Regions from separate parts of the Homo sapiens genome. Here region 2 is linked to region 1. Evidence: promoter capture Hi-C in human tissues and cell types (Jung and others, 2019). All regions are on one chromosome and are shown on one strand. The core of a region is centred on a gene start or on the middle of the fragment in contact, and the rest is flanking DNA. Distances in the headings are between cores, read along the strand shown. Region 1 holds the start of GREM1 (gremlin 1, DAN family BMP antagonist). Region 2 overlaps FMN1 (formin 1).

Evidence for each region. Contacts are between HindIII fragments. The study calls those that stand out against the background at their distance.
Region 2: a fragment that was not itself captured here is called in contact with the fragment with the promoter of GREM1 in region 1 in 6 of the 25 tissues and cell types used here (IMR-90 fibroblasts, aorta, lymphoblastoid cells and 3 more).

Annotation. Positions count from the first base shown.
Region 1 is chr15:32,714,707-32,720,986 of GRCh38, reverse strand. GREM1 (gremlin 1, DAN family BMP antagonist) reads right to left here and starts at 2,983. Exons shown (of 2, transcript NM_013372.7): 1 at 2,826-2,983. It overlaps GREM1-AS1 (GREM1 antisense RNA 1), which reads left to right and starts at 2,122. Exons shown (of 2, transcript NR_109767.1): 1 at 2,122-2,442; 2 at 2,623-2,886. RefSeq lists enhancers at 1,683-2,260, 2,261-2,839, 2,977-3,477. The HindIII fragment of the contact is 12,229 bases long and covers 1-6,280 here.
Region 2 is chr15:32,878,448-32,884,727 of GRCh38, reverse strand. All of the region lies in intron 16 of FMN1 (formin 1), which reads left to right. Among named protein-coding and RNA genes, the nearest start is that of GREM1-AS1, 160 kb to the right of the region's middle. The HindIII fragment of the contact is 6,926 bases long and covers 17-6,280 here.

The DNA.
Region 1 (6,280 bases), core at 1,734-4,233:
CGGGATTTTTCCATGTTGGTCAGGCTGGTGTCGAACTCCCGACCTCAGGTGATCCGTCCTCCTTGGCCTCCCAAAGTGCTGGGATTACCGGTGTGAGCCACTGTGCCTAGCCCAGCCAGCAGTTTAAACCCAATTCTATCTAGCCCCAAACACAGGTCCTTAACCACTGTCCTATTGACACCCAGTGCTGTCCTTAACAGTGGGTCAATGGATATGTTTTCTAATGCAATACAATTTGAAGAGTGCTATAAATAAAATAATTATCTATTTTGTATCTTCATGTTCACATGTGAATAAAAAGATTTCTCTTGTCCCAGGAATTCCTGTTGTACTTTGAATTTCTAAGAGCATATGTTAAAACTAAAGAAAATTCCTTGCAGATCGAAGACACGGGCTGGTAGCACTTGCCTGATGGTTGCCTTTTGGTTAGAGGCTGCAGTCACCTCCCCTAACCACTGTCCCCCACCTGCCTTTCCTTTACATAAAAGGTTTATATTTCCTGGCTGTCCTTTACTCTCTGTTGTGGAACATGTTCCACAGCTTTGCTGTCAACAAGCAGTTCTTGGGGGAGGTGTCTGCGGCATGAAATTTCTTTGCATTTTATCACTTTTAATACTTGACCATTCAGACTGAAGGCATCTTCGGCTTAGTTTCAAAGACAGGGTAGGCAGCCCTCATTCAGAGATGTAGGACATAAAAGGTTTTTATCCTTCCCTGTGTAACTACTCACATAAAGACCGCATTAGCCAACCTGGATTTCCTACAGAGCGTGGGTTACCAAAACATTTCACTAAAAATGAACTTTTAAGAAAATAGGAAACCTGTGAAATTACAAAGTTTACAAAAGACTCTAATTCCTACAATGACCTGGAGGTTAAACACACACACACAGACACACACACACACACGCACACATACTGCCACTACCCTGCTAAAAATCCCTGAAATAGTTAATATTAACAATTTGACAGTGCCATTTATCCAGAGATAGTAATCAAATCACCTACTGTTATAGACTTGGCTTGGGGGGCAGTGAGAATATATAGTTTTCTTAAGATCTTTCCCTCCTTGCTTTGAAAAGTACATCCCCCCCTCAAGACTCTCATGCTCCCCCTCCTTCCAAAAAAAGAGAAAAGGGGAGGGGGAAGCCCTAGGGATGAAAGAGGACTCCTCACCCTAGAATGGGGTTATCTTAACCTCTTCTACGCTATTTATTTAACTTGTGTGTACAGCCAGAAGGAAGCCACTACTCTGGGGTCCCTGGGACAGCTTAAAACCCTAGTGACCCACTTAACACAATAGATTGTTTTAATCAGTTCGTGTCCTGGCACCATCTCGAAGGGGAACATAAACAGACGCGCACACCGCTCAGATTTGCTCTTTCCAGCAGGAGATCCAATTACCTATCGGTGGTCACCTCTCTGCCCTCGGACCGTTTAAGAGGGGGATTTTAACCCCTAACGCTGAGGCTGTATTTCTGTCTATAAGAGCCGAGATTCGGAGTCGGTCGAGGAGGGGAAGGCAGTAGACGGATTCGACCCGGGAATGCATTAGGGACAGCTCCGGGCGCGCAGGAATTTCTTCACAGCAGAGGCTGGTCACCTGCCGTCCGTCCCTCCCCGCCTGGCCCGGTGACCGTCGCCAGAGCCTGGCGCAGGCAAATAAACGCCAAGCTGGGGCACCCCCAAGGAGGAGCTGCGATCCGAAGGCAATGCCAAGCGAGAGCGGTGGCGCGTCTGTTCTTCCGGAGTCTGTAGTCTACAAATAACTCCGGCCAGCAAGGAGGTGACAGCCCCAATATACCTCCCACTCCCCTGCTATGGCCTTGCTCCGCAAGCTGTGGAGGGGCCAGCGGAGCCAGCCAGGCAGCGAGAGAGAACGAAAGACGCCCAGCTCGTTGCAGCCGCCAACCCGCCTCAGCCGCCAGTCCCTAGTCCTCAGGAGCTAGTGAGGCGCTGCAAGGCGAGGCTGGGGCCTCTAGAACACAGTTTAAGGGGTGCGCGCGGAAGTGGGAACCAGCCGGTGGCCGCTGCCCGGCGCCAGAACGTCTACCATTCAGCCCGGGCGTGCGCGGGGCGGGGAAGAGGCTGGAGTAGAGAAGCGAGCGCCCGCGAGTGCGTGGCCGGTCCGCGAGCGCGTGTGGTGTCTGCCTTGTGAGCACTGCGGGTTCGCTGGACCCCGCGGCCAGGGCCGCGCCCCGCACCGCAGCTGTCGGATTACCCACCGTTCGGTTTTCCGCTGTGGCTGAACACAGCGGCTCTGCCCTTGCCAGTCTCCATCTCACCTCGGGGATCGGCAAATGCACACATCATGGATTCTCCGGATGCTCCAACCCGCGGACTCCAATGGGCGCCCCAAGACGCCCCCAGACCCAGCGCGGCGCCCCAAGCACATGGGACCCTCTCAAGGCAACTCGCCGCGCAGTCAGCGGCCGACTAGCAGGTCCGGATGCTCCTGCGCTCTGGCGGCCTGGACTTCGCGCCCTCGCTAAGCGGGCGCGTCTGCCAGGCGCTGCTGCCACCAGCACCAGGAGCGTGTTCGGGGGCCTCCGGGAGGTGGAAACGGGATGTGGGGGTCATCCTGCCCGCTCCTGACAACTTTTTTTCCTACGTTTCCCTGCAGACCCAGAGCAGCGAGGTCACGGTGTCCGCGGCCTCAGCAGGAAGGACCCCGCGATGGTTCTTCACAATTCACCCCCGCGAACAACGCACCCGAGCCTGCGCGCACGGAGGGCTGCCGCGCGTGGAACTGAGCGGGTCCTGGGTTGGTTTGCGGCCCTCTTCCCTCCGCCCACTCACATCCCTGCCGGGTGCGTCCGCGCTCACCTGTCAGTGCGGCGGGTCCTCGGGGCCTGCGCTTTCGACGCGTGGCGCTGAGTGCGGCCGCGGCCAGAGCCGCCGGGGCTCGGCGCGGGGTCAGCGGGACCGAGAGTGACGCGGCGGCCGTGCACTGGGTCGCCCGGTCCGCGGAAGGCGCACCGAGTGCCAGGCATCGCGCCGTCTCCCGTTTAAATGCCGGCGGCAGAGCGCGGCGCCCGGGGCCGCGCCTCTCCATTGGCCAGGCGCCGCCGCCGCCGCCAGACCCGCTATCCGCCCCCTTTCCCGGTACTGCCCCCGCCCCCCGCACCCCTCCTGCTTCCCCGCGGGGTCCCCTCTCCGCCCGCCTCGCCTCTTTGTCTGCTCCCCCCGCCCGGGCCGGCTGGGAGAGGTCACCCCAGGGAACCGCGCCTGGAATGCACAGCAAATCACATTTTCCGCTCCCGTTGGAGAGGGAAGAGCGGGAGGAAATCCCCCCGGCTGGCGGCCCCTCATTCCTTCTCTGCCCCAGGTCTGGGCTTTCCCTGTCGGCCGCCCGGCATCGCCTGCGTTGGTCCCGCGCTCAGTAGCGGAGACTGCGCTGGGAAGAGCGAGATCTCCGTGGGATCGTGCCAGATTCGGCCATTCTTCCCCTCTGGAGGGAACGGGACTGCGGGATGCTCTGGTCGAGCGGCCGTCGTGGCTCCCCGGCGGCCCCGCCCGAGGCCCCCAACTTCGAGGGCGCTGACCCCGGCGCCCCCGTTAACCTGGCGGGCTCGCTGGCCGCCAGCAGGAGCCTGTCGCCAACATGACACCCTGCTCTCCTCGCCCGCCAAGGGTTCTTTCAGCCCAGATGCCGGCGGCCTCCCCTGTGAGTGTACAGAGGGGAGTCACGGGAGGAGAATAAAACTAAATGACCGTCAAAAGTCAAGGCTTCTGTTCCTAAATTATCTTAAGAGACAGAGAGAAAACAGCCACTGGGCGAGAGGGGTTTTCTGTAGCATATCAAAGACGAATAAGTCAGGAAAATAAAACGTTAGATGAGGAAGTAACTTCCCAGAAATTTAGGACAAAAACCTACCGACGTGTAAAACCAATGTCACATTCCGGATACCAAGTACATAAATAGTTTTCGAAAGATGAGCGAACACTTTCATTTGTTCTCTTAGCCTGAAAAATTGGTTCCTCAAAGAGGCCGTAAGTTTTGTGTGTTGAAGCTAAAGTCCGTGCAAAAATTAACACGTCTGCAAGATCTGCAGACCAGCTCCATCAGCCACGTCAAATGAAGACTTTGAAAAAGATTTGCTACAGAAGGAAATATGAAGGTGTCTGTATTGTCTAACGCGAAATAAACAAAACAATGAAATCCATCAAAAGATACTTACGAAACACCCGTAATTTAAGTACTTGACTAGGAAAACAAAACCAGACCAGAAAACAGCCTATTTTTTTTTTCTCTTTAGTCCGGCGTTAGGGGGAAGAAGCAAGAAACATCTACTAGATGCTGTTAGGAACGTGAAATAGATATTTTTAAATAAATGAAGCAAGAAGGACGTCTGCATTAGTATCCTTAAAATCTTAGTCCTCTCAATGTTTTGTTTGTGCAGATGGCAGTTTCTACACATGAACTCGAGGCTGCACTTTACAATTCTCAATCAGTTGTTGTTAAGTCATGCAGTGAGCCACAGTTTGTAGTTGCCTACAGAATGGGAGCATTGAACCAGCTTGAAGACCTGTCTTGCTCACGTGGGCTCCTGGAGAGATAGGTAATCAGAAATACACAAAATACTTAGGCGATGACCAGTTCAGTCGAAGCCCACCACCAAGCTGTATTGGAGCCAGCTGTTCTCCCAACGTGCAAACTGCTGTACTTCTCCCCACAAAAGGGAGCATATTTTACAAATTCATTAAGTCCTCCTCATCTAAAATAAAAGCTTTAGTCACTTCTTTTTTTCCCAAGACTTATATACTGCCCCAAATCAAATACAAAGAAGCTGAAATTACCTCCCAAAATGGAAGTGATTTTTTTTTTTTGGAGCCCTGACACTGTGGTTTTCTCTATCTCCATGTATCAAATCATGATGACTCTTCCTCATGCAGTTTCTCAGGCCATATTTTTTATAATAGAGCCCCCACCTCCTCCCCACAACACACGCCCCCTCTCTGTATCCCAAAGAGATAGAGAGGGCTATGCATCACTGCATCATTTTTCTTCATTCTCATTTCTCTCTCCCTTCTCCCTGGCATTATAGTATTTCCTGCCACTAGAATGTAAGGTTCATAAGGGCAGGGATTTTGTCTAGGTCACTTTGATTACATGAAGCACATAGAATATAGATTGTCTAACACAGCACTCAGATTCAATAAATAGTTGTGGATTGAGAATGTTGAGCACATTCCCACTAAGATTGTCAGCTGAACCAAATGCTGAGGGTATAACCATCGTGGATAGGATAAACACAGGCCCTCACCTCAAAGAATTTATAGTCTAGTATGTTTGTAAATATTTATATAGAAACACAAGTTTTTTGCCCAATATTTGTGTTTCCACAGCTCCTAACAAGTTCTTGCAAACCATTGTCCAATCAGGAGGAAGGCATAAGGATAAAAACTCCCTAGACCGCTCTAAACATGGTTACATAACTAAAACCTGCTTTTAGTAAGGGGAGAAGAAGTAGAATGACTCGATGTAGTCATGCCTAAACCATGATGCCTAAACCACGATCACTAAATGATTAATTTTATTTAATGAAAGTACTTTCAAACTACTTTGAGGTTGTGAGAAGAGTAGATTCTGCTCAGCCACTGGTTCGTAAAAGTAAAGTCCATTTCCTCTTTTTTTGCCCACCTGTGTTTGGAATGTGCTAGCCTCTCTGTAACCCCAAGAAGCTAAAAGAGGGCTACTCCCCAGGTTTGGAGAATAACTTTGAAGACCTTTAGAGAAGAGTTTTTACTTAGATCTGCAAAAGCTATTTACAGCTGTTCATCCAATTGCAGAGACTACGTATGCTGTCTTGCATAGGATTAAAAAAGAATAAAGCCCTTTACACAGTTGGAACTGACCTTGTATGCCCTTTCTAAAGAAAAAAAGTATTAACCTATAAACTTGATAATGATTAAGTAAAAACATATTTACAAGAGTCAAATACCAGTTAAATGGATCATATTCAGAATGAATTTTTCTTATAAGTTAGTAAGAAAAAAATCCCCACAAATAACCCAATAGGAAAAAAAAATTGCACATGGCCAAAGCACATGGGCAGGTAATTCACAAAAAAGAAACCTGGACAGCCAGTAAATATAAAAAGATGCAACATTACACCAGTAAATCAGAGAAATATAAACTGAAATGAGAAGATACTGTTGCTTATCTACAAAGTTACCAAAGATCTAAAAGTCTGACAATATCCAGCAATGGAAAAGGTAGAGAGAAGCAAGCAAGCAAATGCATTGCTAGTGAGAGGGTAAATTAGTACCATCATTTC
Region 2 (6,280 bases), core at 2,230-4,729, 160 kb before region 1:
GTGAAGTTGTAAGCAATAATTGAGAAAACACAAACAATGGCAATAGTTACTTTCATTCTCCCTCTTTGTCCTTGCTGGCTGGAACTCTCAGGGTGTTCTTACCCACCCATATGTGGTAGGCAGAATAATGCCCCCCAAGGATGTCCAAACCCTAATCCCTAGAATCTGTGAACATGTTGCCTTACATGGCAAAAAGGGACTTTGCTGATGTTGACATGGGGAGATTATCCTGGACCGTCCAAGTGGGCCTAATCTAATCACATGAATCTTTAAAGTCAGTCTTTAAACGCTGAGGACTTTCCCTGGCTATGATCAGAGGGAGATATAACGACGTAAGAATGATCAGAGAGATGTAATGTCGCTGGCTTTGAAGATGGAGGAAGTGGGCCGTGAGCCAAGGAATGTGGGAAGCCTCTAGAAGTGGAAAAGGCAAGGAACAGATTCTCCCTAGAGCCTCTAAAAGGGAGTACAGCCCTGTCAGCACCTTGAGTTTAGCCTGTGAGTCCCATGTCAGACTTCTAACATATAGAACTAAAAGGTGATATATTTCTGGTGTTTTAAGCCTCCTAAGTTTGTGCTAATTTATTATAGTAGCAATCAGAAACTAATACACCAAGGAGTGGACTCTTCTTTCTGATTGCACCAGTTAATACCAGAGACAGACACACACACATACACAAACACACACATGCGCGTGCAGCATTGCTGAAACTATAGATGTAGGATTCGTCAAATAGTAGCACCTAAAAATATTACCTGAAATGTGAACTGGAACTGTTGTTCTCTGAAAGAGTCTATGATCAAATAAACCTGGACATGCTCTGTACGAAAATCATATCCTAGGGATTCAAAGCACATGAGCTTATTAAAGCCTCTGGGAAGTTCTGTAGTTAAAAAAAAGTTTAATGCTGTTTAAAACAGCATTTCCTAACTTAAAGCATGAAACATTGGCTTGCTTTCTTTTCCCTTTCATTGTCTACTTAGTAATATTTTTACAGAGCATAAGTTGTGTAAAAGGTACTTTAAGAAGAAAGGATATTGATTGTACTAGCAACACGGTTGTTGGTGAAATGATATTACTGGGTCCTGCCTGCAGGAGTCAGGATCTCTAGTAACGTAGGGGAGGGCAGGTCTGACTTAGCAGAAACAAGGCCACATGTCATTACTTACCGCTTGATCTCATTCTTTTTTTTTTTTTTTTTTTTTTTTTTTTTTTTTGAGATAGGTTCTTGCTCTATTGCCCAGGCTTGAGAGTAACAGCACAATCATGGCTCACTGAAACCTCAATATTCTGAGCTCCAGCAATCCTCCTACCTCAGCCTCCTAAGCAGCTGGGACTACAGATGTATACCACCACGCCCAGCTAATTTTGTAAATTGTATTTTTTGTACAGACAGGGTCTCACTGTGTTGCCTAGGCTAGTCTCAAATTTCCTGGGCTCAAGCGATCCTCCGGCCTTGGCCTCCCATAGTGCCAGGATTACAGGCATGAGCCACCACTGGACCTGATCTTACCCTTGATCAGTTTTGTTTTCATTTTCATTTGGGGTTATGTGTGATGTCCTTTTCTCTTCCTATTACTGCAGTTGATCAAGAGTTGACTATGAGTAGGAGGGAGGAATGCTAAGAACTGGTTGCTAATCTAATGGATATTCAACTTTGTGTTACTGTGGGAGGGGAAACGGTTCCTCTGTCCCTGCTCTTCAGCAGCTTTTAATGCAAGTTTGCCTCGTCACCATCCTCTTTGATTCTGGCTTCTTACAGCCATGCTGGCTCTTGTTCTGTCAGGAATCAATGTATCTGTCCACTCCGATGAAAGTGTGGCCCTTGCCTGAGTCAGTCAGTGCTATTGGGCCCCAAAGAGAATTTAAGAAAGTGTTTCCTGTTGATATTATCTTAGGAAGCAAAATGGTTCTTCCTTACTCTTAGGGTTGTCAAATTTATTAAATAAAATTCAGGAGGCCCAATACTTTTCTTTCAGGGTTTTTTTTTAAATGTAAGTGTATCTCAAATATTGCATGGTACACACTTACACTAAAAAATTTTTTCTTATCTGAAATTCTAATTTAACTTGGTGTACTGTTTTTTATCTGGCATGTCTGTAGAGAATCTAAAAGCAATAATAAAGTCAACTAGAAGTCAGTTCGTTTTTTATTATCATTATGCACTAGCAATTCTAAACAATGGCAGCAATAAAATTCTCCTCCCTACCAGTGTAGACAGTGGACAAAGGGTCTATAAATGTGGTTAAGGGTGTGGCGTGTGTCCATTTCCACCATCACTAATGACAACACTTACCATTTAATGAGCACTTAATACCAGCAAATTTGCTTACATCATTTCTATTTCTTAAAACTCCTTCAAAGTAAGTGTTATTACCTGTGTTGTTACAGTAAGGAAGTGGAAGTTACTTTGCTACTACTGGCAAAGCTGAAATTTGAAACAGGTTTATCTGTGCCGTACTTTGTTCCTTTACAGTTTGCAGGCTCACCCTAAAAGCACAAAAAATGTGATCCAGAATGATAAAGTTTGAAGAATAAGCCCCACTTCGTTCTGTGGCTCATCTTCTAAAGGGACTACAGATAAAAATTGGATTGAATTCAGGCTTTCTCTTGTCTCTACATACAACCACTCAACCAGTCTGCCTATTGTAGTCTCTCTCCTTCCACCTCCTGCCTGTCAATATTTTTCAGTTTCTCTGACTCCCTCTCTGTCTCTCTGACATTGACCTAGCCTCTGTTTTATTCCTTCGTGACCCAAAAGAAAGCATACTAGTCTGATGTGGCTAACTGAACTAATAGCAGAGGACTAAAGGGCCATCCCTGGGCAACCTGCAAGGTTTTGTTATCTCTTCCATGTGTGGAAGTTAGATGTATTGGGCTCCTGATGTAGATGAGAAGGTAAGGGAATTTTCCAGAACTTGTCAAGTCACATAAGAGGGTGAGCTATGCTTCCTGTGCTCAAGACCAGCCCTGACCCTGCAAAACGAATGACCTCTGCCACCTGGTGTCTTCAAGTGGCTTTCCCTCCATGAGAGTTTAAATGCTTCTTGTAAGAGGAAAAAAGACAAAAATTAGATCTTGTCATGAGGGTGAAAATTTTCTTTAATTACTAATTAAAACATGGCCCATAAACAACAATATGGTTCTAGTAAGGGGGAAAAGTCACTTTGGAAACCTTTTGGAGGACTTTGGTGGAAACGTCATTGATTGAACACTCATCAAGGACTGAACACTCATGGAATTTCAGTTCCTTTTGAAAATTTCTAGAACGATAGTAGAATTCTTTAAAAGCATCAATTTTAAAGCATAGAGAGAACCACAAAATTTTGGAAACTCAAAAACAGATGTATACATGATAAATGAATTAATCAAACAAGAAAGCTGAATTCTAATCCAGGAGTGATAGGAGGTGAGAAGCAATCCAACTTTTACTATAAGACTTACATGTACCACAAGTTTGTGCATATTTATACAAACATGCAGAAAGTCATACATATTTGTACATAAATTAATACAGTCATTTAAAATGTCTAAAAATGTTGGATGAGTTCCTAATTTTAAAAGGCCTAAAAAGTTTTAATGTTTTAATAATAGTATAAATCTGTTTTACTCCCCCGTATTTGATTAATATACAAAATATACAAAAAATATGCAAAAACAAAAAACCCCACAATGAAATGAAGCTTTGTGAATGGCAGTTAAGTTTCAATGGCATAGGCTGGGGTGTTGACAATAGCACTGAACTAGGATTTAGGAGACAAAAGTTTAAAGTTAATTCTGCCACTTACCATGTGATATTTGACTAATATGGGGGAAGTAAAACAGATTTATACTATTACTAGAACATTTCAGAATACTTAGGACAAAAAGAAAAGCTCACCCCCTTCTAGGAGTAGGTGGGATGTGGGGATGGATTACACACACAGTCAGGAAACAGAATGACTTCAGACTTTTCAGTAGCATTACTAAAAGCTACAAATGCATCAGGATTCTGAAGAAAAATTATTCCCAGTCCAGAACCTTATATCCACCAAACTATTAGTCAAATATGAGGACAGATTAAAAACATTTTGAGACATGCAATTTCTCAAAATACTTATCTCCCATACAGTTATCTTCAGGATGCTACTAAAGAAAGTGCTGTCCCATTAAAGAGGAAGACATAGGTCACAGGAAATAAAAATTCAGTGGAGAAGGAAGGTGAATGGAGCCTCCAGCACAGAGAAAAAGCCCAGGATGGCAGCCAGACATTGAAAGAAAACATTTCAGATTTGATTAAGTCAAAAGCATCATGGAGAAGGTTCTTAAGGAATACACAATTAATACATCTAATATATCTGAACGTTTGGACAAGAGATTTTATACAACTAGTAACAAGTGTGAGGTTCATTTAACGTTAAGCTCATAGAAAACAAACTAAATCAGAAAAAAAAATTCTGAGAGCAAGTGTGAGAGAAAGAGGAAATGTGCGGGAAATGTGGAATAATCAGAGTTTCCATATATCAGCTGGGACTGCGAGTTGTTTTTGCAAAGTCATAATAATGTCAACACCAAACGCTAGTCTAACCAAGTCATGGTACCGTGTGCTATATTGGGGTGATGGAAGTGAAGAGGCGGGAGTGAAGGAAAGAACTACATCATTTATAGTTGATAAAGAGAAAAATAAAAAAAAAACAATAGAAGCTTGTTAGAGACATACTACTAAGCACCAAATAATCACATAAAATTGGTAAAAGAGGTAGCCTCTGAGGAGGAAGAATTGAGGAAATGGTGGGGTGGAGATGGGGGACTGCTGTTCTTAAAGTGCATAGAATGTACTGATTCTTTAAACTGCGTGCACGTATAACTTTGACAAATACATAAAAACAAAAAATCCCACAATGAAACAAAGCATTTGTGAATTTGTTAAGTTTCAATGACAGAGGCTGGTGTGTTGAAAATAGTACTGAACTGAGATTTAGGAGATGTAAGTTTAAAGTTAATTCTGCCTCTTATCACATGATAAACCATGCACTTTGCCACATCACTTAGCCTCTGTGACTCTCAACTGAAAAAAAAAATGGAGCCGATCATACTTCTGGATTCTGCCCAACACAAAGGGATATTGAAAGGGTCAGATGAGGCGATGCCTGAGGAAGTACCTCAGGAGGTGTGAGGTAGTACTTAAATTCCTGAGAGGCCTTGCAGTCTGCACTTTACTCAATGGATGCTGGTGTGTTCTAGAAGGGAGAGCAGGGTATTGATCATTAGGACAGGTCTGGCTAATTTATCACCTTTTGGGAAGCTCCAGAAGACATGACTTGAATGATTATTGACCATGTCTAATTTATTAGCTCTTTCCTCCTTCACAGCCCATTTGTCCACAGCAGTAGTTTACTAAGTCTGAGCTCTGGTACGAGACTGGATACATTAGCCAGAGTCCTGACCATGTTGCCATGGTGTTAAAAATATTTAGTTTTGCAAGCAAAGTTTTAGAAATAATAAAAAAAACTTTGATATGATTTATTTTTGTAAAATGATTTCAACAAAACAGACCTAAGGAACTGGGATAAGTATTTCAGAAAAGCAGTGGGTGTAAAATGTGGATCGGCATGGTGACTTTTGATGCAAAGCATTCAATTAATTGAGCATGGTGACTAAAGGTCACACATTTCCCAAATGAAATGCCTTCAAAGACAAGTTGTACAGAAAGGAGAGAGGAAACTGAAACTTGATTCATCCGTTTAATTAATGGAAGAAGTTTGTGTTTTCCTTTGAAGCTGTGATTGTGACATTTCTAGGTGGGAAGGATGAGTTATGTTGTCCTGGTTTCCTCCTCTCAGTTTGCACCCTCTATTTCTACCCTCTATTTTATAAAAACACGTGGTTAATAGAATGTGTTTTGTTGAGTTTTTTTCTTTGACAAGAAACATAAAATATTGAAATAAAAGCTGCAATCATAGAAAAGTCTGGGTCAGAAGTCCTGAATTCAAATCCTTGCTTCACAAGCTTTGTAACCCTTGGCAAATCATTTCATCCCTGACATTTCAGTATCCTCATATAAAAATGAGTGTAAGGCTACCTGCTCCACTGATTGTTTAAGAGGATTTACTGGGATCCCACAAAGGAAATCCCTTTTCATAGCATATGCCAAATGTGTCATACTTTTCCTTGATTCCTTTTGTGCTCTCATGTCTGACAGCTAGTCCTGTTGACTCTTAACTTCAAAAAGTGTCTGGAATCAATTCATTGCTCTCCATCTCCACACCTACTGCTTTTGTAATCCAAGCTACCACCTTC